Linked DNA regions of Homo sapiens: all the other regions are linked to region 1. Evidence: promoter capture Hi-C in human tissues and cell types (Jung and others, 2019). All regions are on one chromosome and are shown on one strand. Each heading gives the region's core, a stretch centred on a gene start or on the middle of the fragment in contact. The rest is flanking DNA. Distances are from core to core; before and after follow the strand shown. Region 1 holds the start of BAMBI (BMP and activin membrane bound inhibitor). Region 2 overlaps SVIL (supervillin). Region 3 has its middle 60 kb from the start of SVIL-AS1. Region 4 has its middle 40 kb from the start of LYZL1. Region 5 has its middle 83 kb from the start of LYZL1.

What was found. The method cuts DNA at HindIII sites, captures the fragments that hold promoters and counts their contacts. A contact is called where the count stands out against the background at its distance.
Region 2: a contact is called between a fragment that was not itself captured here and the fragment with the promoter of BAMBI in region 1, in 1 of the 25 tissues and cell types used here (mesendoderm cells).
Region 3: a fragment that was not itself captured here is called in contact with the fragment with the promoter of BAMBI in region 1 in 4 of the 25 tissues and cell types used here (H1 embryonic stem cells, dorsolateral prefrontal cortex, mesenchymal stem cells and 1 more).
Region 4: a contact is called between a fragment that was not itself captured here and the fragment with the promoter of BAMBI in region 1, in 2 of the 25 tissues and cell types used here (H1 embryonic stem cells and dorsolateral prefrontal cortex).
Region 5: a fragment that was not itself captured here is called in contact with the fragment with the promoter of BAMBI in region 1 in 2 of the 25 tissues and cell types used here (dorsolateral prefrontal cortex and lymphoblastoid cells).

Annotation. Positions count from the first base shown.
Region 1 is chr10:28,675,558-28,679,218 of GRCh38, forward strand. It overlaps BAMBI (BMP and activin membrane bound inhibitor), which reads left to right and starts at 1,964. Exons shown (of 3, transcript NM_012342.3): 1 at 1,964-2,416. The coding sequence starts at 2,341. RefSeq lists silencers at 1,432-1,991, 2,717-2,861. The HindIII fragment of the contact is 33,369 bases long and covers 1-3,661 here.
Region 2 is chr10:29,461,922-29,465,582 of GRCh38, forward strand. SVIL (supervillin) reads right to left here. Exons shown (of 38, transcript NM_021738.3): 35 at 1,571-1,714; 36 at 356-480. The region is part of intron 2 of SVIL-AS1 (SVIL antisense RNA 1); the gene reads left to right. Among named protein-coding and RNA genes, the nearest start is that of SVIL-AS1, 54 kb to the left of the region's middle. The HindIII fragment of the contact is 8,599 bases long and covers 1-3,661 here.
Region 3 is chr10:29,347,862-29,351,522 of GRCh38, forward strand. No RefSeq gene overlaps it. Among named protein-coding and RNA genes, the nearest start is that of SVIL-AS1, 60 kb to the right of the region's middle. The HindIII fragment of the contact is 9,519 bases long and covers 1-3,661 here.
Region 4 is chr10:29,327,309-29,330,969 of GRCh38, forward strand. No RefSeq gene overlaps it. Among named protein-coding and RNA genes, the nearest start is that of LYZL1, 40 kb to the left of the region's middle. The HindIII fragment of the contact is 5,763 bases long and covers 1-3,661 here.
Region 5 is chr10:29,204,461-29,208,121 of GRCh38, forward strand. No RefSeq gene overlaps it. Among named protein-coding and RNA genes, the nearest start is that of LYZL1, 83 kb to the right of the region's middle. RefSeq lists a silencer at 2,354-2,584. The HindIII fragment of the contact is 3,136 bases long and covers 498-3,633 here.

The DNA.
Region 1 (3,661 bases), core at 714-3,213:
CCTGAAAGTTTCCTTTTAGCTAATAATTGACTCTAAAAGAGAGTGTAATCATTACATAAAAAGTATTGTCCTCTGGGCGCGGTGGCTCACGCCTGTAAATCCCAGCACTTTGGGAGGCCGAGGCGGGCGGATCACGAGGTCGGAAGTTCGAGAGCAGCCTGACCAACATGGCGAAACCTCGTCTCTATAAAAATACAGAAATTAGCCAGGCGTGGAGACAGGTGCCTGTAATCCCAGCTACTCAGGAGGCTGAGGCAGGAGAATGGCTTGAACCCGGGAGGCGGAAGGTTGCAGTGAGCCGAGATCGCGCCACTGTACTCCAGCCTGGGCGACAGTGCCAGACTCGTCTCAAAAAAAAAAAAAAAAAAAAAAAAAGTCTTGTCTGCATAAAACCCTTACAATTGTTAACTTGTCAAGGTTCTAGTAGCCAGGAAGTTCTAATCAAACTCGGCCCCAGGACTGCCTTGTCAGCACGCCCCTTGAGAAACTTTTCTGAGAAACCTGCTGTTTACCTGGTGCCCTAACCAGTTTAATTTTCTTTTAAAACTTCTACTGGATTTCTCCTTCTCTCCTTTTAGATGCAATTTTGATCTAGAGAAGTAATGGTCTGAGCATCAGTTTATGAAATTATTTTATTTTTCTGCACATAAACATTATTTTTCAAAGACAATTTCATTAACTACATCCTGCAGCTCTGCAGACTTTCAACAACTTTAAAAGGTTAGGCGTTTGAGATATGTTCGCCTTGACTTTCAGTCCTCAAGACATATGTACATTTTTCTTAGTCTCAAAGCTCATGTCTGCACTCTAGTCCTAAAGGATTTGTCTTTATAATTCTCACCTTAGCATGAAATGTGCTTCTCTTTCTTTCCTTCCCCACCCCCCACCCCCTTTTGACATATCCGGTAGGGAAGCTCTGGCAGATTCTCAAGAAGAATTTTGCAAATGGTCGACTTTTGTTCATCTCAGGTTTTGGAGGGAGAGGATAAAAGAACATTCCCTCAGATAATGAGTTTTAACCTTAATTCCTTCCAAAGCGGAGGGGGAAACAAAACTACAGCAAGACCACCTTGAGTACCTTGGGAAGGGCAGCCCCGCGATCCCTAATAAATGAATTAGCATCTCAAGGAGGAGATCACTGCGGGGCTGATATTGATCAGGGTCAGCCGGCGTGTTTGCCAGCCATTGTTTGGGGGGTGGTTAATTGAGTGTCAGTCTCGGCCAGTGTCGTCTCGTTGGCGCCGGGTGCTTTTGGATTTGCTAATTTTCGTTAAGTGTCTCTAGCCCGCTACTCGTCCCGCGTACCCGGGAGAACCTAGCGGCTCCTAACGGATCAACAGTCAGTCTGTCTGGGCTTTATTGATCCCATGGCGGGCAGCTCGAGGCGGACACGCTGAGGGGGTGGGGGGCGAAGGCTGAATGCAGACCCCAGCGCTGGGCCGCCTCCCCCGGGCTCCCACCCGAACCCTCCTCCGCCACCTGCACAGGCCGGGGCATTGTCACTCGCCCCTGGGGGTTCCAGAAAACGCAGTGCGGCCGGGGAGGACGACCACACGGACCCCCTGCGTGTTTCGGGGGGCACCCAAAAGAAGCCCCGCGCTGGGGAACGCTGACCACCCGAGGCTGAGCCGTCAGGGTCTCGGAGGCGGGTTCCCGAGCCGGTCCCGGGGCTGGGCTCCCCCGGCGCCTCGCGAAGGTCACTGACGCGCAGGCCTCCGCAAGGGGGAGCGCGGGAGACGGCAGCGCACCAGCCGGGCGCCCCAGCCGGGCGCCCCAGACGCCGGCGCCGCTCGGAGCCGCCGGGCAGGTCCCCCAGCGCTCGCGTCTGGGCCCGCCCCCCGCTGCGGGGCGGATTGACAGGAGCCCGGCGGCCAATCGGACGCCGTGGGGCGGGGCGAGGCGGGGCGGTGCAGGCCGGCTCCCGGCGCGGGGCGCTATTTACGGCGCGGAGCCGGAGAGACCTGGGCTGGCGCGGGCGGGAGCTGCGGCGGATACCCTTGCGTGCTGTGGAGACCCTACTCTCTTCGCTGAGAACGGCCGCTAGCGGGGACTGAAGGCCGGGAGCCCACTCCCGACCCGGGGCTAGCGTGCGTCCCTAGAGTCGAGCGGGGCAAGGGAGCCAGTGGCCGCCGACGGGGGACCGGGAAACTTTTCTGGGCTCCTGGGCGCGCCCTGTAGCCGCGCTCCATGCTCCGGCAGCGGCCCGAAACCCAGCCCCGCCGCTGACGGCGCCCGCCGCTCCGGGCAGGGCCCATGCCCTGCGCGCTCCGGGGGTCGTAGGCTGCCGCCGAGCCGGGGCTCCGGAAGCCGGCGGGGGCGCCGCGGCCGTGCGGGGCGTCAATGGATCGCCACTCCAGCTACATCTTCATCTGGCTGCAGCTGGAGCTCTGCGCCATGGCCGTGCTGCTCACCAAAGGTGGGTGCCGGGGGCGCACGGGGCCCGGGGTCCCGTCCTCGCCGCGGGGCTTTGGAGCCGGCTGCAGAGGCTTTGTTAGCGGCAGGCGAGGCTCCCTCCTGCGCCGGAGCCGCAGGTCGCGACAAGTTGCTGTGTTCTTAGAAGTCGCGGCGGTGGCCTGGCGCGTGGATGCGGACTCCGATCTAAGGGCAGGCGCTGATCAGAGGGTCCTCCTGGCTCTGCCTGCGGGGAGCGGCGCGTTTGCAGCCCAGCGGGGAGCGGGGCCGGAGTCTCGGCCTCGACGCCGCCGCTTCCGCACCCTGGGGGCTCGGGCGGCCGGGAGGAATCGCAGATCCTGGCCTGTAGCTGCCGCGTGCCCTCAGCGTGTCTGTGTGAGTGCCTCAGGGTGTATTTCTGTGAGTGTGTCTCTGAGTCTCAGTATCCCTAAATGCATTTTTGTGTCTCTGAGTGTCGTTGTGTTTCTGAAAGTGTGTCTGAACCTCTGTATCACTCAGCGTATCTCTGTGTCTCTTTGAATGTATCTCTGAATGCATTTCTGTGTCTCTTTCTGAGTCTTTGTGTCTCTGAATGTGTGAGTCTCTGTATCTCTGATCTTGAGTGTGTCTTTCTGAATGCATTTCTGTGTCTGTCTCTAAGTGTCTTTGTATCTCTGAATGTGCATCTGAGTCTCTGTGTGAGTGTGTCTCTGCGTACATCTCTCTGTGTGCGAGCGAGTGTGTGGGTCTCCCTGAGAGTTTAGGTGTCCGAGGTGTGCAGAAGTGTGTGTTGTGTTGCTTTTCAGCAGCCGGGAGGAGTAGGCTCTGTCAGCGTCTCACTGCCACTCACCTCATATTTTACAAACAGGACCAAAAAAAAAAAAAAGGCAGCGGGTCAGTTTCTTCTTTCCTCTGCAGGCTTTCACCTTTTAGAAAGAAATAACCCGAACTGTCTCCGAATTTCAAGGTTCTCCTCACCTCCCTGCTGTGAAATCTACCTACTGTTCTGTGAACAGATAATTTTTTTAAGTAGGAAGCAGTTTAGTCTTTGCAGCCCCCTACTTCTCTTTAATTGCTATGTAGCAGGCATGAGGTTAAAGCATAAGCTAGCCCAGCGAGGATGATGTGCTACAGTATTTATTTATTTTGGAAGGAAGGGTGTAATTAACCCTAAATAACAGCCCTTGTGGCTTGCAGAGGGGAGCCTCCTGGCCCTATCAAAGGCGGGCAGAACAGGGAGGGACTGAGGCTGACATGAAGTCACAGATAC
Region 2 (3,661 bases), core at 826-3,325, 790 kb after region 1:
TGCGTCACATGGACACTGAGAGACAAGCAATGCCAAGCAACAGGTTCTTAGCAAACAGAATGAAGAGTTCGCAGCTTTTATGTACATATATAGTCCTCAACATGATTCAACTCACCTTTGCTTTTAAGTTTTTAAAATTTGGGTATCGTGTAGAAAATTACTAAAATAGTTAATTGATTTTCCATTAGACTTCTCTTCTTCCTAAGCAAATTCTATGTAGGTTTGTTAAGATGTTGCAAAAGGAAAAATATTTTCCCACTCTGAAAGTGCAATTGGATGCTCTCCCCAAAGTAAAGTTAACCCACAATCCAAAAGGCGCAGGAGCCACCTTCATAGGGCAGGAAAGCGTGCTCACCATCTCTGTGATCTCAGCGATGTCCTCTCTGTGCTCCCAGCTGGGAAACATATTGGTGAATGTCAGGGGCTCCAGACCAGCGTGGATAAGGTAAGACTTGGGGGCTGGTTTCTTGAGATTTTTTCCTGTAGTTACACAGATTGCAATGTCAGTAGACCCCAGGGAGACCCTGTCTTTCTCTGATTTCCCTTGAAATCTTTTCTTCTTTGCCAGAACTCATGACTTCATGCTTAAAATGCAAGTTACCAGTAGTTCATAACAACACATGGATAATGTTTATATAAGATGTTTGTTAGTTTCATGCCTGTGACTACCATAGTGACCTATAATCAACCTGAGTCTATACTTCTTGAACCTAACAAAACGCTGTGTATTCCTGGAAGGGAGAGAGAGGCTCTGTCTGCAGCTTCTGGGTGGAGCATTTTCTTCCTCCTGAATTCACCTGTAGAGTCATCCGTCTCATTTCCTAGCACAGGATTAACTCCCATAATGACTGACGGCGAACGACAGCATCTTATACATCCACATTCACTATAACATTGAGTGGAAGGTTTCATATGTTATTTATTGCTAAAGAGTTTTTCAGGAAGAGAATCCATTGCACATACTCAGTGACATTAAACTAGTTGTGTCAATGAAACCATAAAAATTAAATAAGATTAATTACTGGCATTTTCATTTTATATAAAAGACTAGAAATTTCATGTGTATAGTAAAGAACCATGAACTTACTATGGGTATTTCTCTTTGGATATAATACTAAAAATAATAATGAATAATAAAAAGGTTGGCAATGGCCGTTCACTGTTTGGGGGAGACCTCCATTCTCCAACAGCGTGGTAGTGCTTGCAGATAATGTACAGGGCAGAGGCCAACTTGTCTCTCAGCATGATCAACCCCGAGTACAGCGGGGTTTTAATCTGCCTGGGGCATTCCACAATACAGCCTTTATCCTTGAGGGTAACAAGTTAGCCTCATAATATCAGAGAGAAAAACTAGTTCTTCTTCATGCTGGCAGCTGAGAATGCGCTAATCTAAAACTTAATACATCTCAAAAAGTTAAAGGGGAAAAAATTGGTTTCATCACCACCTGCCAGGCTTTATGGATGGATGCTGGCTGACATGCACAGAAGGGGAAGGGGGTCTCCTGGCTGCGCATGCCTGAGGGGCTTCCCCATCTGTTCCGTGCTGCAGGCATGTTAGAGGGAGCCTCACCTTTGCAGTACTGGAGCACAGTCTCCATCGCACTCTTCCGGTCGGAGGCCCAGCGGATGCGGGCGGAACCAGTGATCTTGTTCTCGATGGGCCACCAGCCTTGCCAGAGGTACACCTCGTGGTGATTGTCAACAAGGAAAAGTGCTGTGAGGGCAGGGACAGGGCCAGACCATCAGGAGCTCCTTCACGGACACTTCTAGCTCACTCCTCCCCCAACCTAGTGGATGTTGTCCCTCTTGACTGCAGTGTCACAGGGGGAAACCCCCTTGGCCATCAAACCAGGGGCAAAGGGGCAAACAGAGAAACCCAGGATACCCCAGCCCTTTGACAGTTCAACGGGGAGAAGCCTGTAGGCAGAGAGAAGTGGTGTCAAGGAGTTGGTCTTTTTCATTCCTCGTCCTCCAGGTCCTCCTCCCTTTGCCCCAGCTCAAGGCCCTGGCCCTTCTGGATACTGGCAGGGCTGTGCTAAGAGTGGAAGGGATAATGCATGTGCCACTCAAGGGGCTGTTAGCACCGCATATCTCCAAAGAGCACAATCAACACTGGAGCGCACATCTCACTGCAGACAGGTCAGTGGCGTTCCTGCCCTGCACGCGATTGCTTAGCAGTGAGGTGAGCTCATGGCTCTCTTACAGAGAAATGGGCCTTAAAAAGCAAAACTGCCACCGGGAGTGGTGGCTCATGCCTGTAATCCCAGTGCTTTGGGAGGCTGAGGAGGAAGGACTGCTTGAGCCCGGAGGTTGAAGACCAGCCTGGGCCACATGATGAGACCCTATCTCTACAAAAAGAAAAAAAAAATTAGCGAGGCATGGTGCTGCATGCATGTAGTCTCCACTACTCAGGAAGCTAAGGAGAGAGGATCGCTTGAGCCCAAGAGTTAGAGGCTGCAGTGAGCCATGACTGCGCCACTGCACTCCAGCCTGGATGACAGAGTAAGACCCTGTCTCTAAAAAATAAAATAAAAGGAAATAAAAATCAAAACTGTTCTACTGCCTTTTCCTCCTACCTTTTTCTCCTCCTCAAATTGTCAGTCTGACTCTTACTCCAGGTGGCAAAATGCCTCTCACTCTTGCTAGTCGGCTCACTGTAAGTCCTTTCCTGACATGCATTTCAGGATTCTGTGAAAACCACACTTTAAAAGCCCAGTGGAGGTTGATAACCCGCCCTGAGCCCCAGGATGAAGGGCGTGGGCACACCCTCTCTTACTGGTGGCTGATTTTCCAAGCATGACATGTGCACTGGGCAAACTTTCAGTGCTGCCCTGAGATCCCGGTGCAAGATGAGGTCCCTGGCTGCAGCTCCAGGCTCTTGTAATGTGAGAAGCAACAAACACAAACTGAGAGGCAGCTGACCTTGGCTTCATTGGAGGGTGGGTGGGAGGGGTTGTCAAGCCCAGTCTCTTGTTACTTTCCCAACCAGAATGAGGGCACAGAGCCCTGACCTTGGGATCAGAAGACCTGGGCTGGAGTCTTGGCTCTGCTGTGGAGACTTGGTATGGCAGACCCTGTTCCCTGGCTAACTTAGCCAATACCCCAACATCCTTCTCCTCTGCCATTTGCTTCCCCAGGCTCCCTTGCAGCTGGGGCTGGCCATGTGACAGGCTCCGGCCAATGGGATGTAAGCAGAAGTCTGCTGGGGGCTTCTGGGAAAACACGTGCTTTATCTGATTAAAGAGAGAGAGTGGCTATTAGGTGGGCTTTTTTCCTTCCCCTTTCTTTCTCTTTCTATCTTGAATGCAAACATAATGGCTGGAGCAATGGCAGTCGACGGGTGACCATGCAGCAACAAGACTGAGAGGAAGGCTGGGAAAAGAGCGGAGACGCCAGGCCTGCCGCTGTGGTGCTCAACCTGTTCTTAGCTGACGTCTTTGGGTGGGTTAAGTGACTTGAGTCTCGTTCCTTATGCTATAAAGTGTGGCTGATTTCACTCTCCTTCCTTTTGGTGTAGGGGTGAGGATGAAAAGAGTGTAAGCACATGTTCTGGGTGCTCTGGGAATGTACTTGGCAAACAGAAGCTGCTTAATAAATACCAACGTAAAATCAAAAGGCTTTCTGGAAGATGTGCCTTCTACTGCTCAGCATAGCTGCCCCC
Region 3 (3,661 bases), core at 649-3,148, 670 kb after region 1:
AGATTCTTTCTGATAATTAACTTTTGTTCTAGTAGCTAAAATGCTAAGGGGAATTTTTGGTGTATTTTTGTCAGAATAGCTCAAAATATGAGCCTCTCCTGAATTCCAACAATCTTATTGGTATCAAGCTTGGTTCCCAATTTAACTCTCTGGTTCTTAGATTGACCAAATGAGTTCTCTGTGTTCAGTCAGAAATGCTATAAGAGAGTTTTAAGAGTTTCTGAGACAATTGTCAGGGTAATCATCACAGACAGGCTAAAACAAAGAAAAATAAATCATATCCCACTTTTCCAATCACTCTACCCAGATTGCTATCCTACCAACATCCCCTAAAGTATGTGATGCTATTGCTGTGACAGTTTAAAGAGTAAACCATCTGGGTCCCATTTCCATACAACTTTTGCTGACATTGATCATCTTATCCTAGGCTCTTCTCAGGTGAGATGAGCTCCTAGGGGTTCTCTAGCAGAAAATTTTCCGTGAGAGCGTCAATATCATCCTTCAATTCCTTCTTTGTTCCGTGGCTCTTCCTCATAGCAATGCTTCCTTCTTATCTACTCATCAGGCTAGCCTAGTTTTCATTCATTCATTCATTCTTCACTAGCTGTGATAGTTACTGAGTGACTATGACAGACAAGGTCCCTGCTCTTATAGAATTTACATTCTAGCAGAGCAGAGCAATCTAGCAATAAAACAAAAATTAATTATCAGGAGGCTCTTTGGGGTTTACCACAGTGGGAAGAGAAAGTGATTTAACTGACCCCAGAAAAAAAATATAACCCCTTAAGCATAAATGGTATAAGATGTAGAGGAACATGCAGGGTCCTGCTTTTACTAGGAAGCCAAGTGCCGGTCGTGCGGTGCCTTGCGAGGTCGTTCTTGGTCTGTAGAGTGGCTCTGTGCTGATGGGTCTACTTGTGCTCCATTCTCAGGCCCACTAAGTGACTTCTTTCCAGACAAGGACTTGTTTATATCTGAGGAATCTACTTCCATAATACGAAAGCTGGGGAGCTCACCACAGGAAGTTTCAGGATGCAAACCCAGGAAGAGAAGGGTGGACGCTCAGACCCCATCTGTTTGCACCAAGACATCTTTGCCAGCAGCCTTCACTTTCCTCGCCTTGGACCTTGGCCACATTATTGATTTCACAAGGTCTCAGGCTCCACCGACAGCCATTCAGAAGAAGGCCAGAGTGCATGTGGAATCACCGCTTTGCCACATGATGATCTGCTTAAGACAAAGTCTACACTGCAGTAGAGCCAGGCAGGAGTTTAAGACCAGCCTGGCCAACATGGTGAAACCCCATCTCTACTAAAAGTATAAAAATTAATTGGGTGTGGTGGTGGGCACCTGTAATCCCAGCTATTCAGGAGGCTGAGGCAGGAGAATCGCTTGAACCCAGGAGGTGGAGCTTGCAGTGAGCCAAGATCATGCCACTGCATTCCAGCCTGGGCAACAGAGTGAGACTCTGTCTCAGAAAAAAAATACACAAAATATATGAACAAGTTAATTTTTAATTGCTTTTATAAAAATGAGGTCTCACTATGTTGCCCAGGCTGTTCTCAAACTCCTGGCCTCAAGCAATCCTCCCTGCCCTGGCCTCCCAAAGTGCTGGAATAACAGGCATGAGCCACCATGCCTAGCCAAGTCAATTTACTAAAAGTCAGCTCAGTATATACCCAAAGGAATATAAATCAATCCTTCTAGTATAAAGATACATGCACACATATAGCACTATTTACAATAGCAAAGTCATGGAATCAACCTAAATGCCTATCAGTGATAGACTGGATAAAGAAAATGTGGTACATATACATCATGGAATACTATGCAGCCAAAAAAAGGAATGAGATCATGTTGCAGGGACATGGATGGAGTCGGAAGCCATTATTCTCAGCAAACTAATGCAGGAACAGAAAACCAAACACTGCATGATCTCACTTATAAGTAGGAGCTGATTGATGAGAACACATGGACCTGTGGTGGGGAAAAACACACACTGGGCATCTGTAGGGGCAGGAAGGGAGAGCATCAGGAAGAATAACCAATTGATGCAGGGCTTAATACCTGGATGATGGGATGATCTGTGTAGTAAACCACCATGGCACACATTTACCTGCACACGTACCCCTGAACTTAAAATAAAAATTGGAAGACAAAAAAAGGAACTGATGAATAAGATCAAATAAAATCATTGTTGATTGAAGTTAAAAAAAAAGTCAGCCCAGTAGAAAATGGACAAAATGCTTGAAATGCCACTTCATAAATGAGAGTAATATTCAAATGGCTAGTAAACATATTAAAAATGCTCAATTTTGTTTGTAATCAAGGAAATGCACATTGAAATCATAGAGATGCAATTCCACACTACCAAAATGGCTAAAATTTAAATTAAAATTGCCAAATATTGGCAAGAATATGTAACAACTTGAACACTCCCACACTATTCATTAGAGTGCTAATTGGTACAAACCCTTAGGAAAATGGTTTGGAAATTATTACTAAAGCTAACATATACATACCCTTCGACTCAGCAACTCCACTCTGGGTTTTCATGCCCAACAGAAATGTGTTCACTAATAAACACTTACCTGAATTTTTTTAGGAGTGCTGTTCATTGGAGCTAAAAACTGAAAATTACCCAGGTGCACGGCAATGGTAGCATGAATGAATACATTACGCGATATTCACACAATGGAATACAGGTTGAGTATCCCTTATCCAAGTGCTTGGGACCAGAAATGTTTCAGATTTTTAATTTTTCAGGTCTTGGAATAGTTGCATTAAACTCACTGGTGGAACATGCCAAATCCAAAAATCTGAAATCTCAATCTCAATCTAAATGCTCCAATGAGCATTTCCTTTCAGCATCATGTGGGTGCTCAACAAGTTTCAGATTTTGCAGCATTTTGGACTTCAGATTTTCAGATTTGGGATGTTCAACCTATACTGTACAACAGTGAGAAAGAATCACGTACTCACAAAAATATGGATGAATATGACAGCCATACTATGGAGGAAAAGAAACCAGACATTAAAAGTCTGGTATACACTGCATGATTCCATTTCTATAAAGTACACAAACAGACAGGATAATGATTACCCCACTTAGGATTAGTGCCTGGGAGATAACACAAAAGAGAACTGGTAACATTGTATTTCTTGCTCTGGGTTCTGGTTTTATGGATGTGTTCAGTTTGTGAAAATTCATTGAGACTACGATGTGTGCTCATTTCCGTATGTATATTACATTTCAATAAAAAGTACCACAAAACCTATATACCACTGTTGCTCCTGCTTCTGTTCTTGTGGACACCACACACAGTAAAAGCACATATATCAACTTTCCAAGTCGACATGTAATTCAAGACATACAGTGCACTTTAAGCCTGCCATGAATATATTTTGTAGAATAATGTAAGAATCGGAGAAATGGGCCACTCGGCAGTTCTACAGAGTTTGGGTGTGTGTGCAAGCATGGAAGAGTGGCATGTGGTTTTCACTACTAATGGATTAGTAAAGTATAATAGGAAAAATATGATGCCCAAAAGAAAGCCAACTGCCACTGCTGCTCTGGAACTGGCCCAGATGCTCTGGAACTGGCTCAGAACTGAGAAAAGCTAAGAAATGATACCTGGAAACAGAAAGTTCATGGAAGAGA
Region 4 (3,661 bases), core at 414-2,913, 650 kb after region 1:
CAGTGGGAAAAAAGCAAAACATGTGACATGTGGAGTTGCAAGCTTCTGGGAAATTTGGTTTCTATTAACTGCACAAGCAATAGTTTTGGTCATTGTTGTTGATGTTGTGTGTGTATGCATTACGTTTAATGGGCACCCAGTGCAATGGCAGTAATAAAAATGGAACAGAACAAGTATGTGAAGGAATTAAAGCTAGAACTTACCAGTGTAAGTTTATTTCTAGTTGATTTTTGAAAAAAATAAAGCCAAATATTTGCAGGTCCCAGGCGCTCTGAAGTCTGTAGTTTCCCACCCTTACAGACAGCACCCCATGGTGTGTCAACTTTCTCATTTCAAAGTCCAAAGCATCCTAAAGCAAACATGAACCTCACAGTGAAATGGCCTCACTCTGATTTACACATCATTATTTCTCCAACTGTTGATTTAGTCCAGTCTTCCCTGATGGCATCTTCTAAAGGAAAGCTTCTTCATATTCTTCCCCAGGAGACAGTCAAGGCTGTCCACGGACAAGCGGGTTGAGACAGCATATTCCGTGCTGAATCTGAGGGCATAAGAAATTTGCTTGTGCTTTCTCCTATTTCAGTTCTGTAACCTCCATTCCAATGCAGTCATGTGAATCGTTTGCTTCTTTGGGTTAGTAATAGATGTTGCCGTTTATTGGCCACGTATATACTCAGCCCTCCCCTTATGGAGAGGCAACTGGAGAAACTGAGGTCTTTATCCAATGACCTGCTCCATGCCAGCATTTCTGTAATTGGGGGTTGGGACATCTGAGCTACAGGAACTTCTGAGAGTCCTAAGGCGGTGAGATATTGCTATAGTGACCACCAACATCAATGTTTGAAACATTTATAAAATAATAATAGTAGCTACATATAACTAAGAACTCACTATACCAGGAATCTTTCATACATTACCTTTATTTCTCAGACAACTCACCCTACATAGGAGGAGTCTAAGGCTGTAGACATTCAGGAAGCTTGGAAAGACCTTGCAGGTGGTAAAGGGCAGAACCAGAACTTGCATCCATGTATCCTTTTGACTTTGAAGCCTGTTTTTCCCTGGACCTCAGGGATGAGATAAGATGCCCAGCATCTATCCACTTCTTCACGCCTCCTCACACTCTTCCTTTTCTTATTCTTCAGCTCAAAGATCTGAGGTAGTATCAAGAGAGGACCATCCCTGGTGGGGGTCAGTGGCTCATATCTATAATCACAACACTTTGGGAGGTTGAAGCAGGAGGATTGCTTGAAGCCAAGAGTTCAAGACCAGACTGGGTAACATAGCAAGATCTCCTTCTCTATTTAAAAAAAATATATTTTAAAAAAGACAGCTGGGAACAGTGGCTCACGCCTGTGATCACAGCACTTTGGGAGGCCGAAGCAGGCAGATCACCTGAGGTCAGGAGTTCAAGACCAGCCTGATCAACATGGTGAAACCCCGTCTCTACAAAAATACAAAAAATAGCCAGGCATGATGGCAGATGCCTTTAATCCTACTTACTCAGGAGCCTGAGGCAGGAGAATCACTTAAACCTAGGAGGCAGAGGTTGCAGTGAGCCAAGATCGCGCCATTGTCCTCCAGCCTGGGTGACAGAGTGAGACTTCTTTTCAAAAAAAAAAAAAAAAAAGAGGGAACCATCCCTGAAAGTCTTCAAACAGTTGGTTAGCAGCTGTGAAACTTATGTGACTCCACCTTAAAATGAGGTGGTTTGTTTGATGTCTACCATTCGTACTGAAGGATAATTTGGAATATGGATAATCATAATATTTCTTATGGAAGCAGTCATGACCTAAAACTCTGGCAACTGCCATTGCCCTGGCGTGCTTTCCAAATGAGAACAGAGAAGATGCCTGGGATGACTTCCCACATTCCTGAGTGAGCTGCATGCTCGTGGTCTACTGCTTACCCCAGGTCATCTCTGCAGCAGCTCAGCAGCACCTTCCATCTACTGCCCCAAACATCACCCACATTTTGGTCTCCCCCACCTCCTCCCATTTTTGCAAAGCCAATTGGCTCTCATTATTCTGAACCAATCTTGCCTAGCTGTGTAACCACCACTTGAGAGAAAGTTAATTTTATACTCAGTGCATTTACTTCTATTTGAAATAGATATTAAGGGCGCTCTGCTTTCTAAATTCTCCCCAAGTGAAACAGAGCTCTCTATGAGGCCCCTGAGAACAACAGAGCATTAACACAATTCCTGCCCTGAAGACGTTGTGTCTCCTCTTAGGTCAAGAGCCAATAAGCACATAATTGGCCCTTAATTGTATGAACTGTATTCCCGGTGCTTTTCACAGCACATGGCATTGCGTAAGGGTCAACATGGCTTGCTGATTTATGTGTTGATCTCTCTCTCTCTCTGTGTGTGTGTGTGTGTGCGTGTGTGTGTGTGTGTGTGTGTGTGAAGAGAGAGAAGGGGATTTGGCAGTGATGGGAGGCCACAGCAAGGGGGGCACCAAGAATTAGATAACTCCTATAATCAGTGTTGTTTACTATTCATTAGCAAGAGAAAATACAATTGCAAGAAAATCCATTTATGATTATAGAGGAGAATGGAACTATGCATTCCAGATTTTTTTCCAACAAAACATTCAGACACAACTTACATTCACACTTTTCCCCTAGAAGTAATAATTAGCAAACAGCTGTCAGAAGGTTTGTTGACAACCTTTCTAATGTCAATGTCTTTCAAAAGACCCACTTCTTTGCAATGCCTCCACCCACCGGCTGGCTGAGGTCAAAGGAACATGGAGTGCGCGTGTGTATCTATGCCTGTCTGTATTTTCCACCATATTCTTCTTTCTCTTTCTCCCTCTTCCTTCCCCTCTTATTATTGTAGCATCCAGGTTTTGTCAATTATCAAACACTCAAACACTACATACACACATCCTTACATAAAATAATTCAATGAAGTGAAAAGAAAGTCCCATATCTTCCTCTCTGTTAGCACCATGGGTTAATGGAATGAACACTGAACTTCGGAATCAGAGACTTGGTTTCAAGTTCTAGATTCATTCACTTGCTAACTGTGTGATGGAAATTAGTTTAATCTCTGCAGTTGACTCCTCTGTAAAGTAAGATACTTAACTCATGGCATTATTCTTAGGATTAAAGAAACAAATGTGAATATGAACAAATGAACATAGTTTCTGATGTTCAATAAATACTCAACATACATTTCATTCCTGTCTGGTTTTTCCAGTGGCAGAAAAGATAACACACCAAAACCTTAGCCTGTTCATCAGGAAAGCCTAGACTTCAGATAAAGAACAAATGGAAGACTTGTTTAGAACACTGGCTCCAGTTTTTTTTTTTTTTTCAGTTATAGTTCCTAGCTCTATCCTAATGGATGATACTAATTTTGGAGAGAGTGAAGATTTTTCTGAGAGAAGAAGACATTCAAAGCTGATCTCTCAACAAGGGATGGCAGTATTTCCTCCATCAACATTATTTGTGCCTATTTTTAAATGTTATTTTAAAATAGCCATGGATTTTGCTATTGATTAATGAGTGTCACGGAGAATTGATCTGGTGTTTCTTCTCATTATCAAAGAGAATAAGAAGGAAATTTCCCCTTCCTTCTCGCATCAAGTATGGCTAAGCCTTTGGGTTTGGAGTTTTGGGCTCAGTTGCCCCCCTCCAGCCCCTTTGAGGTGGG
Region 5 (3,661 bases), core at 816-3,315, 530 kb after region 1:
CTGAGAGAGCAGGGAGTGATGGAAAGATTAAAGCAACACTTCACTTTAGAGCATTTTCATCTTTATGGTTATGGTTTTTTAGCCCATGAAATGATCATCCCAGAGGGAAAACAACGCGACCCAGACATGCAGAATGTGGACAGCACTCCCTCCAGCAAAGGGGAGGGAGGTGCTGTTTTCTGCATTTCATATCCTGAGGCCATTTCCCCAAGTCATCATCTGCCTTTGAGATCCCTGATTTCTGAAATACCAAATCTAGGTGGTTACTAAGACCAGAACTTCAATCATTTCTGAAGTGTGGGGATGCGAGAGGAGAGCCCATTTCAATGGCTTTCAATCCAGTGGAAAGATGGAGGGAAAACCCTGAGCTAGACACACTTGTCCTGGTTCTCAGCAGCCGCTCACAGAGAGCATGGGAAAGCAATTTCAATTTCAGCCTGCAGTTAGAGTTCCCAAACTTAACTGGGTCAATGTACATTGAACCCACTTACAGTAACTTCCAGTTAAAGCACTACTTAACCTCATATGAAAACTCTGTTTCTTTGTGGTTCTCCCAGTTATCAACATATGGTATAAGAAGTATTGACCACAGGGTACCAAAGCATGATCAAGGCTGAGGGGAATATGCTTAAAGGCGGGGTGTGGGGTGGGCAGTGACAGGCACAGGTGGCTTTGCCCAGTGCATCTTAAAGTTGCTGTCTTTACACCAGGATGCGGCAAGAGTGCTTCCTAAGAAATGAGGCTTCACTGATAGAAAAAGATTTAGAATGGGGGACGTGACTGATTCTATATCTCTTTTTATTATTTTTTCCTTTATTTTTAATTTTTTCTTTAAAAGATGGAGTCTTGCTCTGTTGCCCAGGTTAGAATGCAGTGGTATGATCGTAGCTCACTGCAGCCTCAAACTCCTGGGCTCAGGTGATCCTCCCATCTCAGAGGGTTTTAGGGATGCAGTTAGTCTCCTGAGTAGCTGAGACTTCAGGCACCTGTCACCATGCCCAGCTGTTTTTTCACTTTTTGTAGAGATGGGTTCTCACTATATTGCCCGGGCTGGCCTCCAACTCCTGGTCTCATGCGATCTTCCCATCTCAGCCTCCTGAGTAGCTGAGACTACAGGCATGCACTGCCATGCCTGGCTAAAGATGCTGTATCTTTTGATGTTAAAATCACAGCTCAATGACAAGATTTTTCTTTCTACCAGACAAGTTTTCATCATGTGAACTGGATAGAAGAAATCAGTTCATTAGAGTGTATTTTTGCTTTATGTGACTTCTGAGCATGCTATGGGCTGATAGTGTGGTCTCAACTGGGAGATAGCCTGGTGTGCAGCAGTCAGCCCAGAGCACACAGCGACCACTCGGGGCCATTGTTTTCCTTTGATTTTCACTGATGGTTGTCAATGCTGGCTTCCTTTTACTTTTCCAGCGTCAGAACTTGTTGATTTTCGTCTGGGCTTACGTGCAGTTCAGAATTTGCTCAATGTTTAGTTTCCTTTCCCCCTCCTCCCATTTATGATAAACCTGTTTATTATTTTTAGGTTGCAAAATCAAAATAAGCTTACAAAGACATCTTTGCTGTTGAAATTCCTGCTGAAAATAAACAACTTTGTAGCTGGGAGCCTGAAACTCTAGCTTCTAACCACTCCCTCATACCATCACCACCAACTTTTTCTCATTGAAATGACCTATACAGATTGTGATTAAAAAATAATACTGCAAAGGGTTTTAGGGATGCAGTTTTCCTATTACAGCAGTAGTCAGCTTGGGATATTATTGTTTTGCAAGACTTTGATAAGCTAAAGTGAATTCCAAGATGCACAGAAGGGTGCAGGTCTAGAAATCAATTGGAAGGAGCAGAAGGGATTAAGGCTGTTGGGCTCACAGAGAAGTGGAAGGTCCGTCATGCAGATGTATTTTTTAGACCTAATCTGTGTTTCTGCAGGACGCAGACCACAAGGTCAATGTTTTAGGGAATGAGATTTCAGCTCTGTGCAAGCAAGAGTTTTCTAATAATTAGAGGAGAGCAGAAAAGAAATGGGCTGCTTTGAGAGGGAGTGATCTCCACATCCATGAGCGAATCCAAGCAGAAAGTAGATAACCTCGTGTCGAGAAGTTTAGAAAAGGATTCTCTCTTATAACGCTGAGATGTGTTCTCCACTATGATCTCAAGAGTGTCAGAGGGTACACAGGTAAGAGGGAGAGGGTCAGAGGCAGATAAACAGTAGAGAATCATGCTGAATGCAACAAGCCAGACACGAGAGACCACAAAACTGTCTCAGATGGAGAGCTTTGCACACTTCTGCAAGATCGGCTTCTCCAGACCCATGGACTCCTCTGTGAGCCAAACTTCTTTGCTCTTCTCCACTCCCTGACTTGATTTCTACACCTTTCACCCTTCTGGTCCCATCTTGGAATTCAATTATGCTATCAAAATTTCTCCCCTGACAGAGTCTGGAATGTCTTCTCTAATGGGCCCGCACTGAATGCCTCAAGCTCTGATCCTGCAGGAACAGATCCCACCAGGGATTCTTGGTGAAGCCACACCATGCATTAAGAAAAATTACCTGGGCCAGGCGCAGTGGCTCATGCCTGTAATCTCAGCACTTTGGGAAGCTGAGGCAGGAGGATGTCTTGAGCAGGTGTTCGAGACCAGCTTGGGCAACATAGCGAGACCTCATGTCTACAAAAAATTAAAAAATTAGGCATTTTGTCACATGCCAGTAGTCCCAGCTGTTTGGGAGGCTGAGTCAGGATGATCGCTTGAGTCCTGGAATTCGAGGTTGCAGTGAGCTCTGATCGTGACACTGCACTCCAGCCTGGGTAACAAAATAAGACCCTGTCTCAAAAAAATAATAATAAATAAATAAATAAATAAACAAAGCAAAGCTAAACTACCTGGAGCACCTGCCCCTGTCATGTGCATTTGGGCCCTGACTCACTAGTGGGGATCACTAAAGACCTCACTGGCCTGCCTGGTGGTGTGACAGGAAGGCTTGGCGTTTCTGCAAGTGAGACTTGAATGCGTTGGTCTGAGAAACTCCAACTACATGAAGGCAGATGCTTCGCCTCTTGGTTTCTCAACCAAATTGTGCTCCAGGGGACTCCTAATCCACATCTTTCCTACTAATTTACCCTTCATTCATCAAAATATGATTTCATAAGAGTGTTTTGATGTCTAAGAAGTCTGAGTCTCATGAGTCTCTTAAGCCCTTTCCTGCTTTGTATCATGAAATTGTGTGCTCCCAGTGTTTAGTGGCACTAGGAGCTGGGAGAGTAGCCTTGTAAACAGTTCTCTGCCCAATACTTGCAGGCCAATTGTGATTATGCCAGGTAGCAAGAAGGCAAGCCATTTTTCTTTACATTATTCATTGGGCCCTCCTTCTAGGGAGGGTCCACCTCCATTGGAAATTTAGTAAACCATACCATTCATTCACTCTCTCAATCAACAACTTTTAAATAAGCATGTACTATGAACCAGGCATTGTCCCAGTGGTAGGCATCCAACATGAACTACACTCAGCTCTAGCTCTTAAAGAGCTCACATACTAGCAAAGAAGATATTTGTGCAAATAAGACCATCACCACCAGGGTGGTAAGTCCAGATCTGATAAAATGCAGTGTAGTATGGAATGAAGGATGCGCACCTACCCAGGCTAGGGTAG